5 separate regions of the Homo sapiens genome follow, and regions 1, 3, 4 and 5 are each linked to region 2. The links are contacts of gene promoters, found by promoter capture Hi-C in blood cells and fetal thymus (Javierre and others, 2016). All regions are on one chromosome and are shown on one strand. The core of a region is centred on a gene start or on the middle of the fragment in contact, and the rest is flanking DNA. Distances in the headings are between cores, read along the strand shown. Region 1 overlaps MYOF (myoferlin). Region 2 holds the start of CYP26A1 (cytochrome P450 family 26 subfamily A member 1). Region 3 overlaps MYOF (myoferlin). Region 4 overlaps MYOF (myoferlin). Region 5 holds the start of CEP55 (centrosomal protein 55).

What was found. The method cuts DNA at HindIII sites, captures the fragments that hold promoters and counts their contacts. A CHiCAGO score of 5 or more calls a contact.
Region 1: a contact is called between a fragment that was not itself captured here and the fragment with the promoter of CYP26A1 in region 2, in 1 of 17 cell types (megakaryocytes). The highest score is 5.1, in megakaryocytes.
Region 3: a contact is called between a fragment that was not itself captured here and the fragment with the promoter of CYP26A1 in region 2, in 2 of 17 cell types (megakaryocytes and naive CD4 T cells). The highest score is 6.0, in megakaryocytes.
Region 4: a fragment that was not itself captured here is called in contact with the fragment with the promoter of CYP26A1 in region 2 in 11 of 17 cell types (megakaryocytes, M2 macrophages, non-activated CD4 T cells and 8 more); the score reaches 12.1 in megakaryocytes.
Region 5: a contact is called between the fragment with the promoter of CEP55 here and the fragment with the promoter of CYP26A1 in region 2, in 5 of 17 cell types (M1 macrophages, endothelial precursors, megakaryocytes and 2 more). The highest score is 9.5, in M1 macrophages.

The regions. Positions count from the first base shown.
Region 1 is chr10:93,462,990-93,467,718 of GRCh38, forward strand. All of the region lies in intron 1 of MYOF (myoferlin), which reads right to left. Among named protein-coding and RNA genes, the nearest start is that of MYOF, 17 kb to the right of the region's middle. The HindIII fragment of the contact is 6,694 bases long and covers 1-4,729 here.
Region 2 is chr10:93,071,540-93,075,964 of GRCh38, forward strand. CYP26A1 (cytochrome P450 family 26 subfamily A member 1) reads left to right here and starts at 2,354. Exons shown (of 7, transcript NM_000783.4): 1 at 2,354-2,584; 2 at 2,769-2,993; 3 at 3,240-3,530; 4 at 3,610-3,768; 5 at 4,287-4,421. The coding sequence starts at 2,396. The HindIII fragment of the contact is 6,992 bases long and covers 89-4,425 here.
Region 3 is chr10:93,383,309-93,387,938 of GRCh38, forward strand. MYOF (myoferlin) reads right to left here. Exons shown (of 54, transcript NM_013451.4): 19 at 4,489-4,605. Among named protein-coding and RNA genes, the nearest start is that of MYOF, 97 kb to the right of the region's middle. RefSeq lists enhancers at 262-763, 764-1,263. The HindIII fragment of the contact is 1,237 bases long and covers 2,575-3,811 here.
Region 4 is chr10:93,332,667-93,337,721 of GRCh38, forward strand. It overlaps MYOF (myoferlin), which reads right to left. Exons shown (of 54, transcript NM_013451.4): 41 at 3,255-3,380; 42 at 1,092-1,247; 43 at 555-646. Among named protein-coding and RNA genes, the nearest start is that of MYOF, 150 kb to the right of the region's middle. RefSeq lists an enhancer at 1,246-2,445. The HindIII fragment of the contact is 5,675 bases long and covers 364-5,055 here.
Region 5 is chr10:93,495,044-93,499,439 of GRCh38, forward strand. It overlaps CEP55 (centrosomal protein 55), which reads left to right and starts at 1,569. Exons shown (of 9, transcript NM_018131.5): 1 at 1,569-1,880. RefSeq lists a silencer at 1,388-1,897. The HindIII fragment of the contact is 5,966 bases long and covers 1,314-4,396 here.

The DNA of each region.
Region 1 (4,729 bases), core at 881-3,380, 390 kb after region 2:
TCAGAACATAACAACTGACTCAAATGCAGAGCACACTCTGAGTGTGCTCAAGGGCTCAAGTCGTTCTTCAGGACATTTCCTGTTTTCCGATTAGCTACGCCTGCCTCTCACTCAGTTCTGCGGAGGTCACCACTGCAGTAATTAACCCCAATGCCAGCCTCCAAACAAGGTTTCCGGGAGAACTGAACAGCTCTCTTAGCCAAACCACCCGCCCTCTTGCGCGGAACCATTTCCTTTGCTGTTCACCTACCAGCCAGTGTGTCAGAACCTTATTGAAAAGGCCTGGCCCAGTGCGGTGCTTATACCTGTAATCCCAACATTTTGGAAGGCCAAGGCCAGAGGATCGCTTGAGTCCAGGAGTTCAAGACCAGCCTGGGCAACATAGTGAGACTTCGTCTCTACAAATTTTTTTTTTTTTTTTTTTTTTTGAGAGGGAGTCTCACTCTGTCGCCCAGGATCTAGTGCAGTGGTGCAATCTTGGCTCATTGCAACATCCGCCTCCTGTGTTCAAGTGATTCTCCTGCCTCAGCCTGCCGAGTAGCTGAGATTACAGGTGCCCACCACCATGCCCGGCTAATTTTTGTATTTTAGTAGAGATGGGGGTTTCACCATTTTGGTCAGGCTGGTCTCAAACTCCTGACCTCAAATGATCCACCCGTCTCGGCCTCCCAAAGTGCTGCAATTACAGGCGTGAGGCACCACACCCGGCCCATCTCTACAAAATATTTAAAAATTAACCAGGCATACTGGCATGCACCAATAGTCCCAGCTACTCAGGAGGCTGAGGTGGGAGGATTGCTTGAGCTTGGGAGGTCAAGGCTGCAGTGGCCACACCCCTGCACTTCATCCTGGGTGTTAGAGCAAGACCCTGTCTCAAAAAAAAAAAAAAAAAAAAAAGGCCTGAAAGACATCAGGACTCCTGAGACTGGCTTGCTACATCTGTGCCGGTGGTCAGCTGCGCTGGTTCATTTTAATGTCAAGTTGGCTAGGCTATGGTGGTGTCTAATTGTTTGGTCAAACATAAGTCCAGATGTTGCTGTCGAGGTATTTTGTAGATGTGATAAACATTTACACTCAGTTGACTTTAAGTAAAGCAAAATTACCCTCTATAATTTAGATGGGCCTCATCCAAACAGTTGAAGGTCTTAAAAGCAAAAACTGGTTTCCTGGAGAAGAAATTCTGCCTCTAGACTCTAACATAGAAACCCTGCCTGAGTTTTCTAAGCTGTGGAATTCAGACTAGAGATTGCAACATCAACTCTTACATGAATTTCCAGCTTGCTGGCCCGCCCTGCAAATTTCAGACTTGCTAGCCCCCACAACTGCATAAGCCAGTTCCTTAAAATCTCTCTTTCTGTCTCTGCACAAACACATGCACACACATCCCATTGCTTCTGCTGCTCTGGAGAATCCTGACTAGTCCAACCAATAACACCAGGTGCCCACGGAAGTAACACGATGGTAACACATTTGAAATGCTTCCAAATACACACCGTCTCACTGATCCTAAAAATCCTGCAGGGAAAAGCACAGATGTCGGCCCAGCCCCTCTGACTGAACTTTCATATCTGTGACTTCTCTTCCTTTGAGCTGTTATCTTAGGAAAATATAAGGCTGAACCCCCAAGCTCAGAGTCCCTCATATATAAACTGATGCATTCAGACGAGATATATAATCTCTAAGTTTTCCCCCAGACTTATGGTACATAACCTTTATGATGTGCCCCCCAAGTCCTGAACGGTTAGATTGCTGTGTCTTTCTGAAATGGCCTCAGGAAAAGTTAGGGTGCTGTCTACAAAAGCTCCCTAAGTAACTCAGCTCTTCGGTAGACAAAATAGAACAACAAGATCTCTAGGTTCAGCCAAGAGTCTACATTTGATCTCCCATTCAGAAGTACTTCTTCCCCTTTTCTAGGTCTCTGGGTCATGCCTCCTTTCTTTTGAGATATATAAAGCCCCATATGAATTCATCTGCCATTTTGCCTAACATTTCACACACCCCTGAACCACACCCATACATGGCTAGCACTTATTATTAAGTGCTCTGAACTGAGTCACTGTTCCCAGTACTTCCCATGGATTCTCTCACTTAATCTTCACAACTCTAACAGATAAATTCTATTATGATCATTCCCAGTTACAGAGGAAGAAACCAAGACACAGAGAGGTTAAGCAACTTATTAGAGGTCATACAGCTAGTAAGTGATGGAGCTGGGATTCAAACCCCGGTCGAAAGAGACAAAAAGCAATTAGTTTCCAAAGTTGGAGGATTAAGACAAGAGGGTGATGCCTTGAAGGCTGAGACTATGTATTATTAATATTGTTATTCCCCCCACAACGCTTACTACATAGTAATTTCTCCATGACGGAGTAAATTGGACTTCATAAGTTCATATAAGTGTGATTACTAGGCGGCTTTAATGATTAAATGAAAGAATGAATACAAAGTGCCCAGCCCAGGGCCTGGCACACAGTAAGCACTAAACAAATGAGAGCTATCAGATGATTTCTTTCTTTTTCTTTTCTTTTTTCTTTCTTTTTTTTCTTTTCTTTTTTTTTTTTTTTGAGATGACTGGAGTGCAGTGGCACAATCTCGGCTCACTGCAACCTCCACCTCCTGGATTCAAGCCATTCACCTGCCTCAGCCTCCCAAGTAGTTGGGACTGTAGGCATGTGCCACCATGCCCATCTACTTTTTGTATGTTGAGTAGAGATGGGGTTTTACCATGTTGGCCAGGCTGGTCTCGAACTCCTGACGTCAGGTGATCCGCCCACCTCCGCCTCCCAAAGTGCTGGGATTACAGGCGTGAGCCACCGCACACAGCTAGATGATTTCTTATTACAGCACCAGGGCAGCCTCCTTGCATCCCCCCAGGGAGTTCCCAGGCTGTGGAGCTCCGGAGGGCAGGGCCCCTGTGACTGGAGGAAGTGCCCTGTGAGGCTGGGACCGCCCTGGTGGAATATTTCTTCCACGTGGCTCCATTCCAGGCTTCTGAGTTTCCCTGGGGCAGCTGGCATGTGAGCAGTGACTGCTCCTCTCTGGCAGGCAGCCTGGCAGCCTCCAGGAGCTGGCTAATTTCTACTATCAACAAGGGGCAGAGAAGTTTCTGAGAAGGGCTGGCAGAAACGCCTCCACCCTGGGGACTTGAGAGACACCTGGGGGAGCACAGGGACACAGGGCCCATCAGGTGGACCCCTCTCCAGGAGTGTCTCTGACTTTGGCTTTCCAACCTTGGCTGCCCTATCGTTCCAGGAAGATGCTGCCAAACAGGTTCTAGGAGAAAGGCATTTTGGGCAAGTGGCAACAGGATACAAAGCGAGGCTGTTTGGGACATTTCTGAAACAGTCACTGATATCACTGATAAACAGAAATGCCCCAGCAAAAAGGCAGGAGGGGTGACTGCTCCCCTCTCCACACCCAGTGCCCCACTGGCCTCTGGGAATGACCTTTCAGATGTACAGGCTCTTGAATCAAACCCACATTTTCCAAGGGAGCTGCAGTGAAGTCCAGTCCATTTGAATGACTCAGCCAGAATCTGCTTCCTAAAAGCTGATGCTGGGGCGTGGTCATGTCCCAGCTCTGCTCACTGCCAGGGCTGCTGGGAAGGGCTCCCAGGAGGGCCAGGCACCTGGCTTGACTGCCTTGGTGTTTGTGTTGTGTGCTGGGCATATTAAACACATTCACGTCTGTTCCCTACAAGGGAGGCTGGGCGCAGTGCTCACACCTGTAATCCCAGCACTTTGGGAGGCCAGAGGTGGGAGATGGCTTGAGTCCAGGAGTTTGAGACCTGCCTGGGAAACATAATGAGACTCCATCTCTACAAAAAATTTAAAAATTAGCCTGGCATGGTGGCTTGCACCTGTGGTCCCAATTACTCACTTAGGAGGCTGAGGTGGGAGGATCACTTGAGCCCTAGAGATCAAGGCTGCAGTGGGCCGTGATCAGGCCACTGCACTCCAGCCTGGGTGACAGAGCAAGACCCTATCTCAAACAAACAAGCAAACAAACAAACAACAACAACAAAAATAGGAGATATGAGTATGCTCATTTTACAGATAAGGAAACTGAGGATCAGGGTTGTTAACTGACTTGCCCGAGATCATAGAGCCAGTAAGTGGCAGAGCTGAGCTTCAGACCCAAGTCAGCCTTGTTTCCAAACCTGTGCTCTTTTTTTTTAAATTTTATTATTATTATACTTTAAGTTTTAGGGTACATGTGCACAATATGCAGGTTTGTTACATATGTATACAAGTGCCATGTTGGTGTGCTGCACCCATTAACTCGTCATTTAACATTAGGTATATCTCCTAATGCTATCCCTCCCCCCTCCCCCGACCCCACAACAGTCGCCAGAGTGTGATGTTCCCCTTCCTGTGTCCATGTGTTCTCATTGTTCAGTTCCCACCTATGAGTGAGAACATGCAGTGTTTGGTTTTTTTGTCCTTGCGATAGTTTGCTGAGAATGATTAAAAAGTCAGGAAACAACAGGTGCTGGAGAGGATGTGGAGAAATAGGAACACTTTTACACTGTTGGTGGGACTGTAAACTAGTTCAACCATTGTGGAAGTCAGTATGGCAATTCCTCAGGGATCTAGAACTAGAAATACCATTTGACCCAGCCATCCCATTACTGGGTATATACCCAAAGGATTATAAATCATGCTGCTATAAAGACACATGCACACGTATGTTTATTGCGGCACTATTCACAATGGCAAAGACTTGGAAC
Region 2 (4,425 bases), core at 1,104-3,603:
GCAATAGGGAGGCTGTTTTGTAAACATCTTGGAAACGAGTTGTTTTTCAGTGAACCCACCCCCCTCCCCGCCCACCACCACCCACGAAAGCTTGGCGAGATTCCTAGATCAAAGTTCCTATTGGCCTGGTAATTTATTGACCCCCCACCCCCCGCCCTGCCCCCCTACAAGATGTTCTTTAATGATCGTTCACTCTCACATTTAATCCTTTCCTGCCGGACGCCCCCGCCGGCCTCGATGTACAGATAGATTAAAACGTTTTTTTCCCTGCGGCAATTTCCAGCGTGCAGGCCCCGCTCATCTTGTGACCCGGCTTGAGCTGAACTTGGCGAGGTGGCCCCGCAGAGTTCACTCGGATGTCACGGTCCGGCCTGCAGGGGTCACAGGCGGGTCAGGCCCGAGGATTGGGAATGGGCCCCAGGTCACGTCCCCATTCGTCGGCTTTGCACACCGGCCGGAGGCGCTGTCCAGAAAGGGGCGGACCCGGGATTTCTGAGAATTACCTCCAGCGCGATTGGCCTGGCTTCCTGCAGTGGCCAGAGGTTGGTTCGCCGTGTTTACAGCCACCAAATCGTTTGCCGGAGACTGAAACCCTGCCCAGAGCCTCTGAAACACTGGGCAGGTTATGGGGAAACGCTGACCCCCCGAAACACTCCCTGTGGCGGCGACTCTGGCTTGGAGAGTCGCTAGGATTGTGCGGGTCCCTCCGACCTCTGCAGATATTTCCTGATACCTCCGGGTTTGGGGACTACCGCGAGAAGGGCAACGCATTTAAACTCTCAGGAGCAGAGTTTTCCACCTCCAAGGGACGCCTTCCAAGGCGTGCGGCGTGCTTCTGCCAGAGACAGTGTTCAGTTTTAAACAAATGCAGGTCATTCTGTTTCATTTTCGGCGCCGCAGGTGCGTTCAGCGCCCAAACCCAGGTAGCGTGTGACCCTGACTGGTCCCGAGCCGGGAAGCTCCGGCAGGTGGAGAGCAGAGAGAGCAGGTGCGCGTCCCGCAGCGTCTGAGCTCCGGGCATTGGCAGCTCAGTAGCAGCTGATTGTAGATGGGCAAAGTACAGAAGACTTCCCAGTACGGATCCCTTCACCCCTCCCATTAGGGGTCGGTAGAGCCCTGAGTTTAGGGCCGAGCACCCCCTCACCTGGATGAGGACAGTGGCTTTACTCTGGGTGGGACTTGGGAGAGAGGAGGAGGACTCCAGTGCCCGGTGTACCGGACACCCAGGTAACGCAGTCTACCGTGCCTGGAGCTGGGAAGAGTAGTTGCAACCGGAGCCCCCTTTTGGGAACTCACTACCCTGAGGCTTAGACAGGTCGGGAATGATCGCCTCCCGGTTAAGGAGGAGGAAACAGGCACAGTGATGTGTGGTGACTTGCCCAAGGTCACACGCAGTACAGATGGAGCCGGGCCTCGGAGCCAGGACTCCTGGGCTCCCCTTCCTCTTATACCGTCTCTTTATCCTGCCAGGGCTAAGGACCCCCTTCCCTGCTGTCCAGCTGGGGCGCCAAGCAGCAGGGCCCTCCGAATAGGCGAGCTGTGCTTGGATCTCAGAGACGGGCACCGACTGCCGAGCCCCAGACGAAGTGCCCCAGGGTCGGGGATCAGGCTTGTGCAGGGTAGCACCTGGGGACCTGAGGGACCTGGAGGCCTTCTTGTATCCTGAAGTAGGACCTTCTAAGACTTCATGAGTCCTGGCCCCCTTGCAGGGGTTGGGGAGCTGGGGATCCCAGATCTGCCTATTGCGCCCGATGCCCCGAGGCTCTCTCTTGGACTCTGGCCCTGAGTTCTTCTGCGCGATCCTTCGGAGACGTCTGGAGGCCTGCTTTATGCATCTCTCTTGGACCTCAGTTTCCCCACACGTGGGAGGAGGCAGCTGGACGATTCCTGAAAGGACTTTCCCTTGCTTCCTCATCACGTGGAAGAGAGCCCACCCGGCACCTGGAAATGGAAAGCCAGTGAAGGCTGCTTTGGGCCGGGGCAGCGGGTGGGACCGGGCGGGAGGGATTCCAAAGAGACCGCCGGGAAGGCTAGAGCTTGGAATTCCGGCTCCTCGGAGTCCTGGCCCTCCCCCACCGCCGCCTCGGAGCTCAGCACACCTTGGATGGGGGAGGCGGGCAGCTCCTAGCCCCGCACCCCAGGAGGCGCGCTCGGAGGGAAGCCGCCACCGCGCCGCCTCTGCCTCGGCGCGGAACAAACGGTTAAAGATTTTGGGCAGCGCCTCGCGGGGGGAGGAGCCAGGGGCCCAATCCGCAATTAAAGATGAACTTTGGGTGAACTAATTGTCTGACCAAGGTAACGTGGGCAGCAACCTGGGCCGCCTATAAAGCGGCAGCGCCGTGGGGTTTGAAGCGCTGGCGGCGGCGGCAGGTGGCGCGGGAGGTCGCGGCGCGCCATGGGGCTCCCGGCGCTGCTGGCCAGTGCGCTCTGCACCTTCGTGCTGCCGCTGCTGCTCTTCCTGGCTGCGATCAAGCTCTGGGACCTGTACTGCGTGAGCGGCCGCGACCGCAGTTGTGCCCTCCCATTGCCCCCCGGGACTATGGGCTTCCCCTTCTTTGGGGAAACCTTGCAGATGGTACTGCAGGTAAGGGAGGGTGGGGCGGGACAGGCTGCTTCCCCGGAGCCCGGCGCGGCTCTGGGCTTCTGCTGAAGTCGGGGTAGGCGCCCCCGGGAGGCATGCTATTGCGGCTAGGAGCAGGGCTGGCGGGAGCGCGGCGCTCCCCGGCGCCCCCTCATGCCCACTTCTCTCCTCCGCCTTCCTCCCACAGCGGAGGAAGTTCCTGCAGATGAAGCGCAGGAAATACGGCTTCATCTACAAGACGCATCTGTTCGGGCGGCCCACCGTACGGGTGATGGGCGCGGACAATGTGCGGCGCATCTTGCTCGGAGAGCACCGGCTGGTGTCGGTCCACTGGCCAGCGTCGGTGCGCACCATTCTGGGATCTGGCTGCCTCTCTAACCTGCACGACTCCTCGCACAAGCAGCGCAAGAAGGTGGGGGCAGGAGGCGACGGCTGGACAGGGAGGGGGACCCCATTTATGAGCGGAATTCCGGCTGATGGATGCTAGGCGCGGGCTAGCAGCTTGAGGTGGGCTAGGACCCTCTGCCAGCTCCAGGTTAGCTTTCCCAGCTCGGAGAGTGCCATGTGTCTGGCAGGACTGGGGGTGTCTGGAAGGGGACGGCGGTAGACGAGAGGGGCGGATGGAGGCTTTTAACGCTGTCCCCTCCTCGGGACTCAGGTGATTATGCGGGCCTTCAGCCGCGAGGCACTCGAATGCTACGTGCCGGTGATCACCGAGGAAGTGGGCAGCAGCCTGGAGCAGTGGCTGAGCTGCGGCGAGCGCGGCCTCCTGGTCTACCCCGAGGTGAAGCGCCTCATGTTCCGAATCGCCATGCGCATCCTACTGGGCTGCGAACCCCAACTGGCGGGCGACGGGGACTCCGAGCAGCAGCTTGTGGAGGCCTTCGAGGAAATGACCCGCAATCTCTTCTCGCTGCCCATCGACGTGCCCTTCAGCGGGCTGTACCGGGTAAGGGCGGCAAACGGGCTGCGGACTAGGGGCGCGGGACCTGGGCGTCTGCTCACCGCCGCGCGCTCTCTGCGCTCAGGGCATGAAGGCGCGGAACCTCATTCACGCGCGCATCGAGCAGAACATTCGCGCCAAGATCTGCGGGCTGCGGGCATCCGAGGCGGGCCAGGGCTGCAAAGACGCGCTGCAGCTGTTGATCGAGCACTCGTGGGAGAGGGGAGAGCGGCTGGACATGCAGGTGAGTAGCAGCTTCAGACCAGGCACTGCGGAGTTTGGTCCCCTGGCTTTCCAAGCGCTGTTCCTGGGGCCCCCAAAGCGCGCGCCTGGGGCCCAGCTTTCTGGAGTGGGCGGCCGGCTCAGACTACAGCTATGGAATCCCGAAGGAAGGCTGAGACACCCGGTCAGGAGAGCTGCGGAAGGGGCTGCGGCGGAACTGGGAGCATCCCCTAGCCTTTCCAGGTTTCAAAGGGAAAGTTGGAATTTGCAAAAATGTTAATAAAGAACCTTGCGATTTTAATAAAACTAAGACTTTAACTCAGGAGTTTCCGGTAGAGCGGGGTCGTACTCGCCTTACTGCTCCAGCTGAACTAAAGGGACGTTGCATTTTGTTTAAAGATATTGCTTTCCTTGACTTTCTGTCAGCAAAACATTTAGCCCTTCTAGTCTTCCCTCCAGAACTCTCAGTTCGATTCTGAGTAATCCTTCTGTCAAACCGCAGGCAGACTTGTGAGAATGTGGGTCTCACTCTATTCTTAGGCACTAAAGCAATCTTCAACCGAACTCCTCTTTGGAGGACACGAAACCACGGCCAGTGCAGCCACATCTCTGATCACTTACCTGGGGCTCTACCCACATGTTCTCCAGAAAGTGCGAGAAGAGCTGAAGAGTAAGGTAG
Region 3 (4,630 bases), core at 1,943-4,442, 310 kb after region 2:
AGGAGTTTTTGACATGGTATAATAGAACCCTCCAATAGGGTTTTGTCAAATCCCCTCTAGGCCTCAATCTTTCTAAAAAGTCTCTCTAAACACTGGTTTGTAACCTGAGCTGCACATTGAATGACCTGAGGAAGCTTTGACGGGAGCATTGTGAGTCTAAAAGCCTCCCTAGCTTAGTCCACTGTCACCTTGATAAGGGAGGATTGGGGGTGCACGCTACTTGTCAAGAGCTCTGCTTAACTACCCACAGCGAAGCCCCCTGGAATACCCGTGGTCCAGAATGATGTGGAAATTCTGGGTTTGGGTTTGAATTGTGTCAAAATGAAAAAGTAGGAAGTTATTTGGATTAGTCATAACTACATACAGCATAACTTCTTTGTAAACCAACTAGGATGATAGGAGAAAAGGGAAAGAGCTAAAAATAGGAAACATAATTTGTGGCCTGAGTCAGGACCCAGGAGAAAATGACCGGTATTTAAGCCAGAGCCATCTGTTAAGCCAGGGACTGCACAGGATGGAGAAGGATCATGGGGAGGCTTGGAGGTGGGGTGGGAACTACGGGGATGATACTCCCAGCTGGGCCGGCTCTACCCCGTAGGCCTCCACATAGCCAGGATTCCATTAGAACCCCATGGATGCTCTCACGCAGAGCTTGCAAAATGACCCACAGAATCCCTGATAGGACCCTCACCCTGGAGAGTCTGAGCCCTAAAAGCAATAGTTTGGGCTTCTGGCCATCAGCACAATTCCCAACAGAGAAGGGACTCACTATGAGCAAGCCGCTGAAGATGGAGCCGCTGGATCACTGTGCAAGCCCAGATTCCAGGAGGGGCAACGCTACCATCTGCTCACCTGTGCCAGAGCCAGGCTACCCTCGATGATTCAGGCAGCTGAGAATTCTGCCGCTCCCTCAGACCTTTCCCACTTCCTCTCTGCCCTCAGGGCACAAAGAGGTAGAGAGAGGAAGGAACAATAAACACCATTCAGAGAAGTACAGAGCCTGGGACAAGATCTGCCTACAACAAGAGAAAATGAAATAATATAAATTGGGCTGGGCGTGGTGGTTTACGCCTTTAATCCCAGCACTTTGGGAGGCCGAGGCTGGCGGCGGATTACCTGAGGTCAGGAGTTTGAGACCAGCCTGGCCAACATGGTGAAACTCTATCTCTACTAAAAATACAAAAAATTAGCTGGGCATGGTGAGAGGTGCCTGTAATCCCAGCTACTCAGGAGGCTGAGGCAAGAGAATCACTTGAACCCAGGAGGTGGAGGTTGCAGTGAGCCAAGGTCACACCATTGCACTCCAGCCTGGGCAACAAGAGTGAAACTCTGTCTCAGAAAAAAAAAAAAAAAAGAAGAATGTAAGTTGTAGTCTATTGGACTTAGGTGGGGTTAGGGCCTTGGGGCTCTCTTTCTGATCATCAGTGACTAGTGCACCTTGTGGATAAGGTGGTATAAAGTAGAGTTTCAGCAGTCGATTTGCAAAAGGAGGTGATTTCTGTCAAGCAAGATACCGATAAGGGCTAAGAGTTGTTGAAAGTGGCTGTGGACACACAAGGCATGGGACATTAAAGGTCAGTGACAAGATCAGGTACCAATGAACACTGCCCAGCATGCCACCTTCGGTATGTCTACTGAAGGGAGCTGATACCTGATGGAGCAGCTGGAAGAACCTGAAGGTGCTGTTTCTAGCAATATTTTTGAGCCCTTAATGTGGGCCAGACCAATGAGAGCTCTCAAGGAGATTGTAGTTGAGTAGGAGAGAGAATGCAAGTGCATAGAATGCTCCCAAAATACATTCGGTCACATCCAAGGAAAATGGGGAAAGAGGAGCAGGGAGAAAGCAGTCCAAGAACAGACTCTTGATCCTGGAGACAAAAAATGGAGTCCTTTAGTGGCAGGGCAGAGGTTCCAGAAGCCAGCGGGTATTAGAATAACACTGGGTTGGCAACACTTGATCTTCTGTCTGCCTGATTCTTACTGTGGAAGTGGCCAGGCTGAATCTGCTGCATCCCTCCTGCACTGCAGCCTCTCTTGACCAGGCCCACCGGGAGCAATAGCTCAGCTCTGCTTTAGAAAGATGGGGAGCACTTGGCAGTTTGGCAAAAAATTTGCCCATTTGTTGCAGCCTCTTTAGCTTTACCAAAAAGTTTTGTTAGCTGCACATAATCCAGAACAGAGGACCTTTGCAAGACAGACAAGGGTCATGAGCATGTTTGTAGGTTGACTGCATTCGTTAAGTCCTTCTGGCAGGTGCACAGATCTGCTCATTTCACTCTCTCCTGGGGCTCCTGTTGCTTGAAGTGTGGCTATGTCTTCAGAATCCTCATTTCTCTCCTATTCTGTAACACTGTTAGGTTTTTAAAATTTTTGCTTCATTTCACTTTTGATTTATATTTATTTAATTAAAAAGATGAGCTATTTTGCTGTCTGTGTTTAATTTAGAGCAAAGAAAATGAATTCTGTTTTACCAGTCAATAAAAAGCTGTTCTTTTATTCTGTTGACATATACTGTGGGCAATATATATTGTTGACTTTTTTTTTTTTTTGCTTTTACACTAAATTAATGAAATAAGCTTCTTTGCCTGTATGTGTTTAACTATTTGCAGTGAAGAAAACTAATTTGGTTTTGCATTCCAGTTAATAAAGCATTTAAAAAATATTTTCTTGGGCCTCTTTCTCCTTCTCCCTGCAACTATGGTTATTTAAAACAAAGAGAAGCAGCATGAACTTAAATTACATTCTGGTGATGGAACCAAATAAAAGAGGTACTATAATGGTTGAGTGTCCATGGTGGCATTTCTGAATAACCCTGAATTCCAACCAATATTTCAAGAGCTAACTCCAATCTGTAACTACTCAAGTCAAGAACCACCATGTGTCTCCACGGAGGCCTCCAAGTGGTTTCTGGCTATTCTTTTGCATGATCCTGGCTGTAACTAGCATGCAAACTGTCCCTTTTCTCACTCTCCCGCCCTCTTTTTTCCTTTTCTTAATTTTTCCTCAAGATCTATTGCAATTCCTGGACTTCAGAGTGGGTAATGTTGTGGAATAGAAAGACTATGACCAGGACCTTATTGACTTTTGGCTCCGTGTCTCTTTAGTAAAAAAACAAAACAAATGATCATCTTTGCTGTAGTAATTCATGGGGAAGAACTATTTATTTTCCCCATGTGAAGTTACACGGATGCCCCGTGGCTTGCTGCTGTGGTGATGCTAGGTTCCTTCCTGAGGCTGGGGGGTGGAGAGAGGGCAGTCTCAGGAGCCTGCTCCTTTCCTCTCAAAGGAGGAGACAGGAATGAAATTGGTGCAGCTCAAGCACTGGACCACAGATGTTCCCAACATGTAAAGGCTGAGGAATCCAGAACAGACTGCTTTGGATGCTAACCTCCTGATACGGCTGCCTTCTGGGAGTCAATGAGCAAGGCCACATTGCTCTGGGGAAGAAGGGATAGTTTCTGTTAAAGGGTGTGGCTATTCTCCCTGTCAATCATCCTGCAAAGGGGGCAGATGTAACAGGCAGACATCAGACGACTAGAGGGAGAAGGCCCTGGCTCGCTGGAGAACTCACGGCAGTTGGGCCTGGACTCAGATGAAAACGTGTTCTGGGTACCACGGGAGTTTGGGGGAGAGCATGGAGAACCCAGTCCTGCCACAAGGAGACAGGCTGCGAGTAGACAGGAAGGCTGACTGTCAGGGACCCAGAACACCAGCCTGACCCCATGAGCTTTGAGAATAGCCACATTTCGCAACCACGTTGTCACCCTTTTTACTGTATTTTCGTATTCTTATCCCAAAAACTGAAAGTGAAAGCTTTTTAAAAGTTGCTGTTTGGTTTCTGCTGTAAAGTGGTGAAATCAGGGCAGGGCCTGTCCTGTGTGCTTGGAACAGAGGGCAACAGCAGCCTGGGGCAGCTGGGGGGCTGGCGGTGATTTGCAACCCAGCAAGGAGGGCCGCGGGCAGAGGGGCATCCATGAGCTGGCTGTGCTGGCAAATGATTCAGATTTGTGGAACACACAGGCATCGACCTGGATTCTCAGAAATGGTTGGGGAAGTCAACTGGGAAGATTTCCTGTCTTCAAGGAGGAAGCGGGGTTCACAGCCATTGCAGTGTGGGCCCTCAGCACACCTGCCCTCCTGTGCTGGGAAGCCTGAGGCCCACCAGCCACCTCTGAAAATGGAAATGAGTAGAGGTGGCACCTACAGCTCTTGGTGCCAGCAAGAAGTGGCTGTTATGGCCACTTCCCCATGACCCCCAACGCCAGTTAGCAAACAGGTCATTCAGTTTGTGGGTATCAGTGTTCTTGCCAGTTTTCAATAGGGTATTAACATCTCAAAGGATGAAGCGATCCTCATAGGGCTGTTGTAGAAACATCCAGATGAGGGCCTCATTGTGAGTTGGGTTGCCTTCCGACTCCCCCAGCTACCCCTTCAGTCCCTGGAGGTCTCCTTTTCTATACCATGCATTACTCACACTTTAACATTTACCTCAACAACCAGCAGGTCATCATTTGAAATGGGCTCAAGCTTTTTATCTGGTGGTGTCTTCTCAAGAAAAGTGGCTAATTCAACCAAGATCCTGCCTCTGTAGGCAACTCCTTCCCCCTGAAAGGCAATAATCCAGGATTAT
Region 4 (5,055 bases), core at 1,951-4,450, 260 kb after region 2:
AACCCCGTCTCTACTAAAAATACAAAAAAAATTAGCCGGGCGTGGTGGCAGTTGCCTGTAGTCCCAGCTACTCGGGAGGCTGAGGCAGGAGAATGGCGTGAACCCAGGAGGCGGAGCTTGCAGTGAGCCGAGATCACGCCACTGCACTCCAGCATGGGTGACAGCAAGACTCTGTCTTAAAAAAAAATAAAATAGGAATAATAATAGCACCTCAGAGTTGCGAGATTTTTTTGAGATGTTTTATATAAACAGCTCCGCAGACAGCCAGGTGGGAGGGGGGTCCCCGGAAAAACTCCAACTGGCCTGTGCTCCTATAACACTAGTACTAATGCTGTCTGTCTACCCTGCAAGCTATCAGAACCAAGCTTCTTCACTTCTGTGAAGTTCTTTTATTTTGGGTTTATCTATTTATTACCTGCTCCCCTGTCTAGAATGTTTATCTAGTTCACAAACACAGTTTCAGAGCCTAGGACAGGGTTGGACACATATTAGAGTCTTCATGCATGTTCCGTGGAGAAATGAAGGCCAGAAAAACATTTAAGAATGTATATTACCTGCCAAAGACTGGGTTGAGAGTGTTGGGAATGTAGTGATCTCGGTCTTCAATGACTTTTTTGCCCAGTGTTATTTTTATGTAAGGGTCACACTGTGGGACAAAATAGACGGGATGTTACATCATTGTAGGGCGCAAGGTGAAGTCAAGTTCAGGGACAGACTCAGCTCGCCTCCACACCCACTCCCAGCTGATGACAAGGTGGCCGCCATGGCACCCCGTGCCTAAGACAAGGGAGCAATGCTCTCCTTTGGGTGGCATGCAGCCAGTTGTGTGGGTGCAGGGGTGGTGGCAGGGGGCGGGGGGGAGTCCTGGCTCACACCTGTAAAATGAGAAGGATGAACCAGGGGACCTTAAGCCCCCCGCAAGCTCTTAGATAAATCCCCATGGGGACAATCCTCCTGAATACATTGTTTTGATGGAGTATCTTTCCCCTAGTGAGATAACAGACGCCCAGAAAGAAAGAACATGACAATTATTGTGGCTGATGACTGTAATTATCTTGCTACAGGAGAAGGCCCCACACCCAAACTCTTACCAGGCCATTGTTGTCCTGGGGCTGGAGCTCTAAGCCTCGAACAATGTAAATCCTAACCGTGCATTCCTGTGGGACGCTGTCAGGTAATTCCCGAAACTGTCTGGGAGGGGCTGGCACGCTGGGGTCATCCGGCAGAGGGTAGATCCGAAAGGAGCCCTAAAAGAGAGAGACAGAAGGACTCACAGGGCCCTGGGTGGCCCAGGTAGAGGGCTCCTGGGAAGTCCCCTCCTCCGCCAGGGGTGTGGGATTGAAGGATGGAAGGCTGCCTTTTGTGAAAGAAATAATGTATATTGCACTTTGCATATTTCCAGTAGGGAAAGTGAAATGATTCTCAAGTAATTATTTGAGAGCTCACAGGGGAGAAGAGAGGGCAGAGCAGAAACTGGGAGTCAAGAGGAGAACATGGGCCAGTGTGATGGAGGAGGTGGTGGTGAGAAAGAGTGAAATACTGCACATTCTTTGAAGATAGGAATAACAATAATTACATTTTAAACCCAACGAAATACCAACAGTGATTCCGCTTTTCCTGTAGCACCTCTGTACTCCACCTCCCACTCCCAGGCAAACTCCTGTTTATCTTTCAAATCTCAGCTGAAAGGTGTCACTTCCTCCAGGAAACCTCCCTGACTGCTCCTGGGCTTGGTATGTCCTCTGGGTGCTCTCATCCAACCCCATACTCACCCCTGGCACAGCACTGGCCTCTGCATTGAGATAATCTATTTATTCTCTAGATCCTTCATTAGACTGTGGGCTTCTAGAGACGGGTGAGGGGAGCATAAAGTCTTGTTCATCACCCTATCTCCAGGGCCTAACACAGGACTAGGCATATAGTAACGCCACAAAAATTGTATTTTGAAGGAGCGAGCCAACAAGACCTGCTGGAGAGGCCACATATTTTGCCTTAAAACCAGGAGAAAGCACTGAAGCCGGATTCAGAACATACAGGTCTTAGTTCCAGTGGTCTTTATTCAGTCAAGCAGCATGGAATAAGCACCTACTATGTGCCAGGTACTAGGGACCCACAAAAGAACTCAAAGACTCCCGTCTGGCACAGCGATGTTCAGTAGGGTTGGCTCTTGTGCCATATGTGATTGCTTGGTGGGAGGCTGTACTGAGAAGGATTTGAGACCACACATCAGGCATCATCCTCTCGTCCCTTAGCAATGTCTGCTACAGGCAAAGGATTATAAAGCAGCAGCAGCACATCTGCCATGACTTTGCCAAGCGTGGTTGCAGGGAGGGGCAATTATAAAGCAGATACTTTCCATGTGTAAGATGCTTTCATGGAGGCATGAACCCAGACCTGTGGGAGCCCAGAGCAGGAGTGAGTCACGCTGCCCGAAGCAATCAGGGAACACTTGACAAAGAGAGTGACATTTGAGCTGGCGCTTAAAAGAATGAGTAGGACTTCGTCAGACCACAAAGCAGGTAGAAAGGGCACCCAGGGAAGGAAGAAGAGCCTGTCCCAAGCCTCCGACTTATTGAGAGGACAAGGTGTGTCCGGGGCTTGGGCGAGGCTCTCCCAGGCAGGAGGGTGGAGTGTGTGAGGGGGAGGGAGGCAGGGGACCATGTAGCTTGGGAAAGACTGGCTCTGCCTTTGAAAGGAGTTGCGACTTGACTGTGAAAACCCAAGCAAAGCCTTTCAGTAGTCCAGAGAGAAGATCAGATTTGGTTGCATGGAGGCTGGAGAGGAGTGTGACGAGAAAGGTGACAAGGACTGTCAAGTGAGAAGTTGTCACGATGATCCTGCTGAAAGCATGGTAGGGGCAGTAGGATGAAGAGAGGAACTAGATCTTGGAGAGACTGTATCTTAGGATTCAAGGCTGCTTGGCGTGAGCAGGGAGGCAGGAAGAGATGCGGAGATGGCTCAGTCAAGGCTGCTTGGCGTGAGCAGGGAGGCAGGAAGAGATGCGGAGATGGCTCGAGTGCTCTGGCCCCCCTCCCCCTTTTCCTTTCTGGCACCTTCCAGCATCCCTCAGAGGCTGCAGGATGTGCCCCTACCTAGACCCTGGTTGTCCTTTATCCTAGGCCTATATAGAAAATGCCAGCATCCCTCAGAGGCTGCAGGATGTGCCCCTCCCTAGAGCCTGGTTGTCCTTTATTCTAGGCCTATATAGAAAATGAAGGTGGATTTTAAACGGGACCAACACACATCTTACTCACCTTAAACTCTCCAACCACAGAAGGATCTTCATTTTCATCCGACTTGCCTCGGTACAACTTGAACGTATCTGAGAAGTCTGTCAGGCCCTCAAATTCTGCTACATTTTCTAGTTCACAATTATATATCTGAAAACCACCAACAGAGTCTTAATTTCTCATTAAAATGCAGGTAAGGTCTAAAATCAAAAGGGCTGACAGTATCAAGTGGGCCTGAGGTTGTGGATGGGGCGACCGGAACTCCCAAATCGCTGGCGGGAGTGTAGACAGATACAACCACTTTGGAAAATGTCTGGTAGTTTCTTTTGGAGTTAAGTAGCCACCTATTCTATGATCTAGAGATTGCATTCCTAGGCATTTACTGATGACAAGTGAAAACACGTACACATGGTAGAAGAATGTTCACAGCAGCTTCATTATCAGGAGAATGGAAAAATAACTTGTGGCATATCCACACAATGGAATACTACTCAGCAATGACAAGGGAAAAACTATGAATACACACAACCACATGATGAGTCTCAAAACTACAACGTGGGGATAAAAGGCCAGACACACAAAACATAAATCATACAAGTCCATTTAGAGCAAGTGTAAAATCAGGCAAAATCAGTTTGTGGTGAGAGAAATCCAATCAGTTGCTCCTAGGAGGGATGAGGATAGTGGAAAATTGACTGGAAAGGGACACGGGGAAGTTTTCTGTGGGAATGGGAATGTTCTGTCTTGTTTTGGGTGGTGGTTCACATAGGGTATATACAATAATCACAACTTGTTGAATGGATCACTTTATCGTATGTAAAATATTTCTCAATTTAAAAAGCAAGAAGGGAAGAGGATGAAGGAGGAGAAGGAAGGAAGAAGGCAGGAGAAAAGGAAGAAGGAAGGGAGGCAGGTAGGAGGGAGGAAGAAGGGAGGGAAGGCAGGAAGAAAAGAAGGAAGGAAGAAGGAAAGAAAGGAAGGAAAGAGAAGAAAGGAAGGAAAGAGAAGAAAGGAAGGAAGGGAAGGAAAGGAAGGAAGGAAGGAAAGAAAGGTAGGAAGACAGGCAGGCAGGAGGAAAAGAAGGCAGGCAGGAAGGGAAGAGGGAGTGAGGGAGGATGGAGTGTGAGGCTGATCCTTCAGCCTCATTGGATCATTTTTCTGAATGAATGGTCCTTTATATGCTAGTATTTCTTAAGCTACACTGAGAAGTTATGACAATAACATGAAAAGGTGTGGGTTTTTTTTTTTTTTGCTTTGATGGGGAAAATTATTTCAATGACCAGATATTTCTCATTCTAAAGTTTTTTTTTCTCATATACACTGTTCTGAAAACTTTAGCACTGCTTCTGCTTGAGGACACTACAGGCTGAAAATTGAATGAAGAATTAGAAAATTCAAAACATGAACAGAAAGCTCAGAGCTAGTCAGCCGTGCCTAGCTCAGTCGCTTGTCTTCCTGCTGTATACATGTTCTCACGGCTGTGATTTTATGCTGCATACATGTGACAGATTCAACTTTTCAGCTTGTGAAACCAATCCCTGTTCAAAGTACACAACAAAGCATGTTGACATCTTGTGTCATTCTGCAAAGAGCACTATGACTTCTGGGTTTCCCTGAGTCAAACTGGATCATCGTGGCCTAATTAGTGTGGTGCCAGCCCATTCCCAACCATCTGCCAGATGCCTCCAAGCCCCAATGTGGCAGTCACGTAACCATAACTCAATAGCTGTCCTCAAGTCCCTGGAATCTTGGCAAAGCCGAAACTCATGCAAGAGGGCTCTCCGGGAAGACAGAGGTTTTCCTGGGCCCTGCTCATTAGCACCCA
Region 5 (4,396 bases), core at 319-2,818, 420 kb after region 2:
GTTATCTTGCATTCTGTTTTGGTTTTGTTTCTCTGATTCTTTAAAATTCCCCACATGGTTTTCTCATCCATTCTATTCAGTAACATTTGAGTGTTGCCTTTTGTTTAACAATGGCTAACATCAATTGAACATTTACTAAATGTTAAGCACTTTACATGAATTTCTTTCATGTAAAAAAATTTTAAAGTTTTAAAATTAGAGACAGGGATTGGGTGGGGTGAGAGTGGATCTCTCTGTGTTGCCCAGGCTGGTCTCCAACTCCTGACCTCAAGCAATCCTCGCTCCCCGTCCTCACGTAGTGGTGGGATTACAGGAATTAGCCATTCCACCTGGCCGGATTTCCTCATTTAATCCTTATAACCGAGCTGTGAAGTAAATATTATTATTTGCATCATTTTACACATCGGGAAACCGAGGCTCAAATAGGTTAAATAAATTTATCCAAGGAGACACATCTAGTCAGGGCAGTAAGGAATTAAATCTAGAAAGTCCTAATCTAGAGTTTATAACCTTTGTACAATATTGTGTACCTAGGATGTTTTGCTACTGTGTATCTACTGTTTTAAATCTCCAGCGAGTTTATGCTGGGTCTAGGAGAGAAAGGGAGGCCCTGCTAAACATTTCATGTGCTTCTTCTCTCAGCAGTAACGTTCTCAAAGCGGCTAATCAAGAGCTAGAATCGATCAATAGATAGATATCAGGCTGGAGGGTAGCAGTCTGGTCTGAAAGCCGGTCCGCTAGCATTCATAATCTCAGCGTTCAACCTGGGCGTGCCTCTCATCTCTCCCGTTAACACTCCCTGCTGTGCTGCTGATTTTTGGCAGTAATCCCAGCACTTTAGGAGGCCGAGGTGGAAGGATCACTTGAAGGCAGGAGTTCGTGATCAGAGTGGGAAACAAAGTGAGACCACCCCCCCCCCCCCCCACTCCGCTGTCTGTATAAAATTTTTTAATAAAAAATTAGCCGGGCGTGGTGGCGTGCGCCTGTAGTCTCAGCTACTCGGCAGGCTGAGGCAAGACGATCGCTTGAACCCGGGAGACTGAGGTTGCAGTGAGCTATGATTGCACCACTCCACTCCAGCCTGGGCGACAGAGTGAGACCCGAGGGGATGACAAGGGGGCTGTGCTCCTTTGTGAAATCCCGTTGTCCCAGGGCAGGAGGGGCCGCACTTCACACAGGGAGAATCTATGCTCAAGAGCGCAGAACTAGTTCGTCTCGGTCCATCGTCACTGGTTTTATCCCATTAAAAATAGTAATTTGCTTTCTCCTAAAAGCGTATAAACACAAAACCAGCCCCTGACTGCGAGACACCAAGCTTGTTTAGGTCTAAGCCCGCAGAGAACCCCCGATCCCAGAATTAGCTGGCGGGCCCGGGAGGAAGTGTTCCCGCCCTCTGTCCCGCCCCGCGGCCCCAGCCACTTCTCGGCCCGCCCTCAGGTTTACTCTCCGCCCTTCAAAGGCGGCAGCCAATCGGGGAGCCGCGTCCCCGCCGCGCGCGCGCTGCTCCTCCTTCTTGCGGGCCGCGCCCTGCCGGCAGTGACGTGCCCCGCCCTGCAGCCGCGGGATTCAAACTCCCGGAAGCGGCATCCACACCTGATGGTGTGACTCGGCCGACGCGAGCGCCGCGCTTCGCTTCAGCTGCTAGCTGGCCCAAGGGAGGCGACCGCGGAGGGTGGCGAGGGGCGGCCAGGACCCGCAGCCCCGGGGCCGGGCCGGTCCGGACCGCCAGGGAGGGCAGGTCAGTGGGCAGATCGCGTCCGCGGGATTCAATCTCTGCCCGCTCTGATAACAGTCCTTTTCCCTGGCGCTCACTTCGTGCCTGGCACCCGGCTGGGCGCCTCAAGACCGTTGTCTCTTCGATCGCTTCTTTGGACTTGGCGGTGGGTATCATCTCCTTACAGATAGGCGCAGAGAGGCCAAGTGACTTGCCCAAGGTCTTTTGTTAGGACGGCTTTTTCCGATTGGCAGGCACTTTCGTTGTGTGTTCCTCAAACATCTTTATTTTAGAAGTGAGAAAACTTGTGCCTTTTTTTGCAGTTTCTCTTTTCCTGTCTGTCTCCTCAAGTGAGATTTTATGTGGGAATTTTTAAAGATTGGCGTCGCCTTGTAGAAGATGCGGCTTGTAATTGAGGCCTTGTACCATTTACTGGATGGAAGCGCTTGTTTGGTCACCTGTCCAGCATGACTTAGGTCACTTCAGCTAATCAACCAATCATTTCTTTTCTTTTTTCTTTTTTTTTGAGATGGAGTCTCGCTCTGTCACCAAGGCTGGAGTGCAATGGCACGATCTTGGCTCACTGCAACCTCTGCCTCCTGGGTTCAAGCGATTCTCCTTCCTCAGCCTCCTGAATAGCTGGGACTACAGGCGTGCGCCACCACGCCCGGTTAATTTTTGTATTTTTAGTAGAGACAGGGTTTCGCCATGTTGGGCAGGCTGGTCTCGAACTCCTGACCTCAGATGATCCACCTGCCTCGGCCTTCCAGAGTGCTGGGATTACAGGCGTGAGCCACCGCGCCCGGCCCCAATCAACCAATCATATCTGAGGGCTTGCTGTTAGGCTCTGTGGGTAACAACAACAACAACAAAAATCAAAGTGCAGTCCTTGAAAAAATAGTTGAACAATTGAAAAAATAAAAGGTTAGCAGGAAGTGTAATTGGGTACTAGATTGTGTAGGGGTGGGGGTGGGGCAGCTATATCGTTTGTTAAGAGTTCACAGAGGGAAGGCATGCTGAGGAAGGTTTGAACTGGGGGAACCCTGTGGATGACTGGAATAGGAAATACAGGGAAAGGTGGCCGGGCGCGGTGGTTCACGCCTGTAATCCCAGCACTTTGGGAGGCCGAGGCGGGCAGATCACTTGAGGTCAGGAGTTCGAGACTAGCCTGACCAATATGGTGAAACCTCATCTCTACTAATAGATAAAAAAAAATTAGCCAGGCGTGGTGACGCGCACCTGTAGTCCCAGCTACTCAGGAGGCTGAGGCAGGAGAATCCCTTGAACCCGGGAGGCGGAGGTTGCAGTGATCTGAGATAGTGCCACTGCACTCCAGCCTGGGCGACAGAGCGAGACTCTGCCGCCCCTAACGCCCCGCCCCCGCCAAAAAAAAAAAGAAAGAAACAGAAACAGAAAAAAGAAAATACAGGGAAAGGAGGTTGGTGGGACTAGGTGGTGGGGGAGATCCAAACCGTCTGGGCCAGAGGCTAGAAACTAGTAGTCATTCATTCACTGCCAGAGTTTCTGTGCAAAGGTTAGGAAGCAGATGTTTGGGGGTTCTTTCACGTTCTGCAGATCTATATTTCCATCATTTTGTGTCTCAATGACTTGGTAGTAGTTTTCTGTCCTACGACCCACGATATCAAGTCAACAGTGTGTTATCAACAGAAACACATAGGAAAGAACTTCCTGTGGCAGCAGGTGACTGAGAGACGCCATAACCTTGCATTTCTTTAACTGATGGATGAGCTACTGCAATCTTTCACCTTATAATGGCAAAAATCCAGGACTAACCTTTTGATAGATGATTTCTTCTACTCAATCTCCACAGTTCTAATATGTTTAGACGTTCTGATTTCACACAGGACAATCTTAAAAGTCACTTCACTACCATTCTAAGGAGGTCTCTCCTGTTTTTACTGATATCATTTATCCCTGTACTTCTCTTGTGTAATATTTATTACAGTTTGAGGATTCATGAACCCTTGTTTGTTTCCTTGTTATTGCCTGCCTTTACTACACTGAAAGCCCCATAACATTAGGGAACATGTCTTTTTTTTTTTTTTAAACCAGTTTACACCCAGCATGTATTAGGATACCTGGTAAATAGTAGGCTTTATAGTAATTTTTGAATGCACTAATGGGCTCATACTCCTTTATATCCTTTAATCACACTGCCATTATTTTATCTTGGGATACATGAAGTAGAAAAATGTTTTTTAACCTCCTTAATTAGAGTTACTTTTATATACTATTTATATGCATCGTATGCTTCACTAGATTTTTGCCTGCTAAAGTTTATATTATATACTTGTTTCTAAACTGTCATCCAGTACTGTTAGCAGATACTGAGTTTCTCCTTACTTAATTTGGCCCCTTATTCTTAATTCCTTTCATGCCTGACTCCCCTGAATGTTATACCTCTTTTCCAGTAAATGTCTTATTTTAGGTTCTCTTCACTTTTTCCCACTGTGCTCTCTCAAATGATTATTAAGATGGATCTGAACTAGGCTACCTTCTAAAACAGAGGACCTATGTTAAGTAATGACATTTCGTGCCTATATACTCAGAATTACATTATTTACCAACAGCTTTTTATTTTGGGCCAAGATATGTCCTTGATTGTGACCTACTTCTTTCAGGCTTTATTTAATGGTTGGAGACCCCTTCATTGTTTTTTAA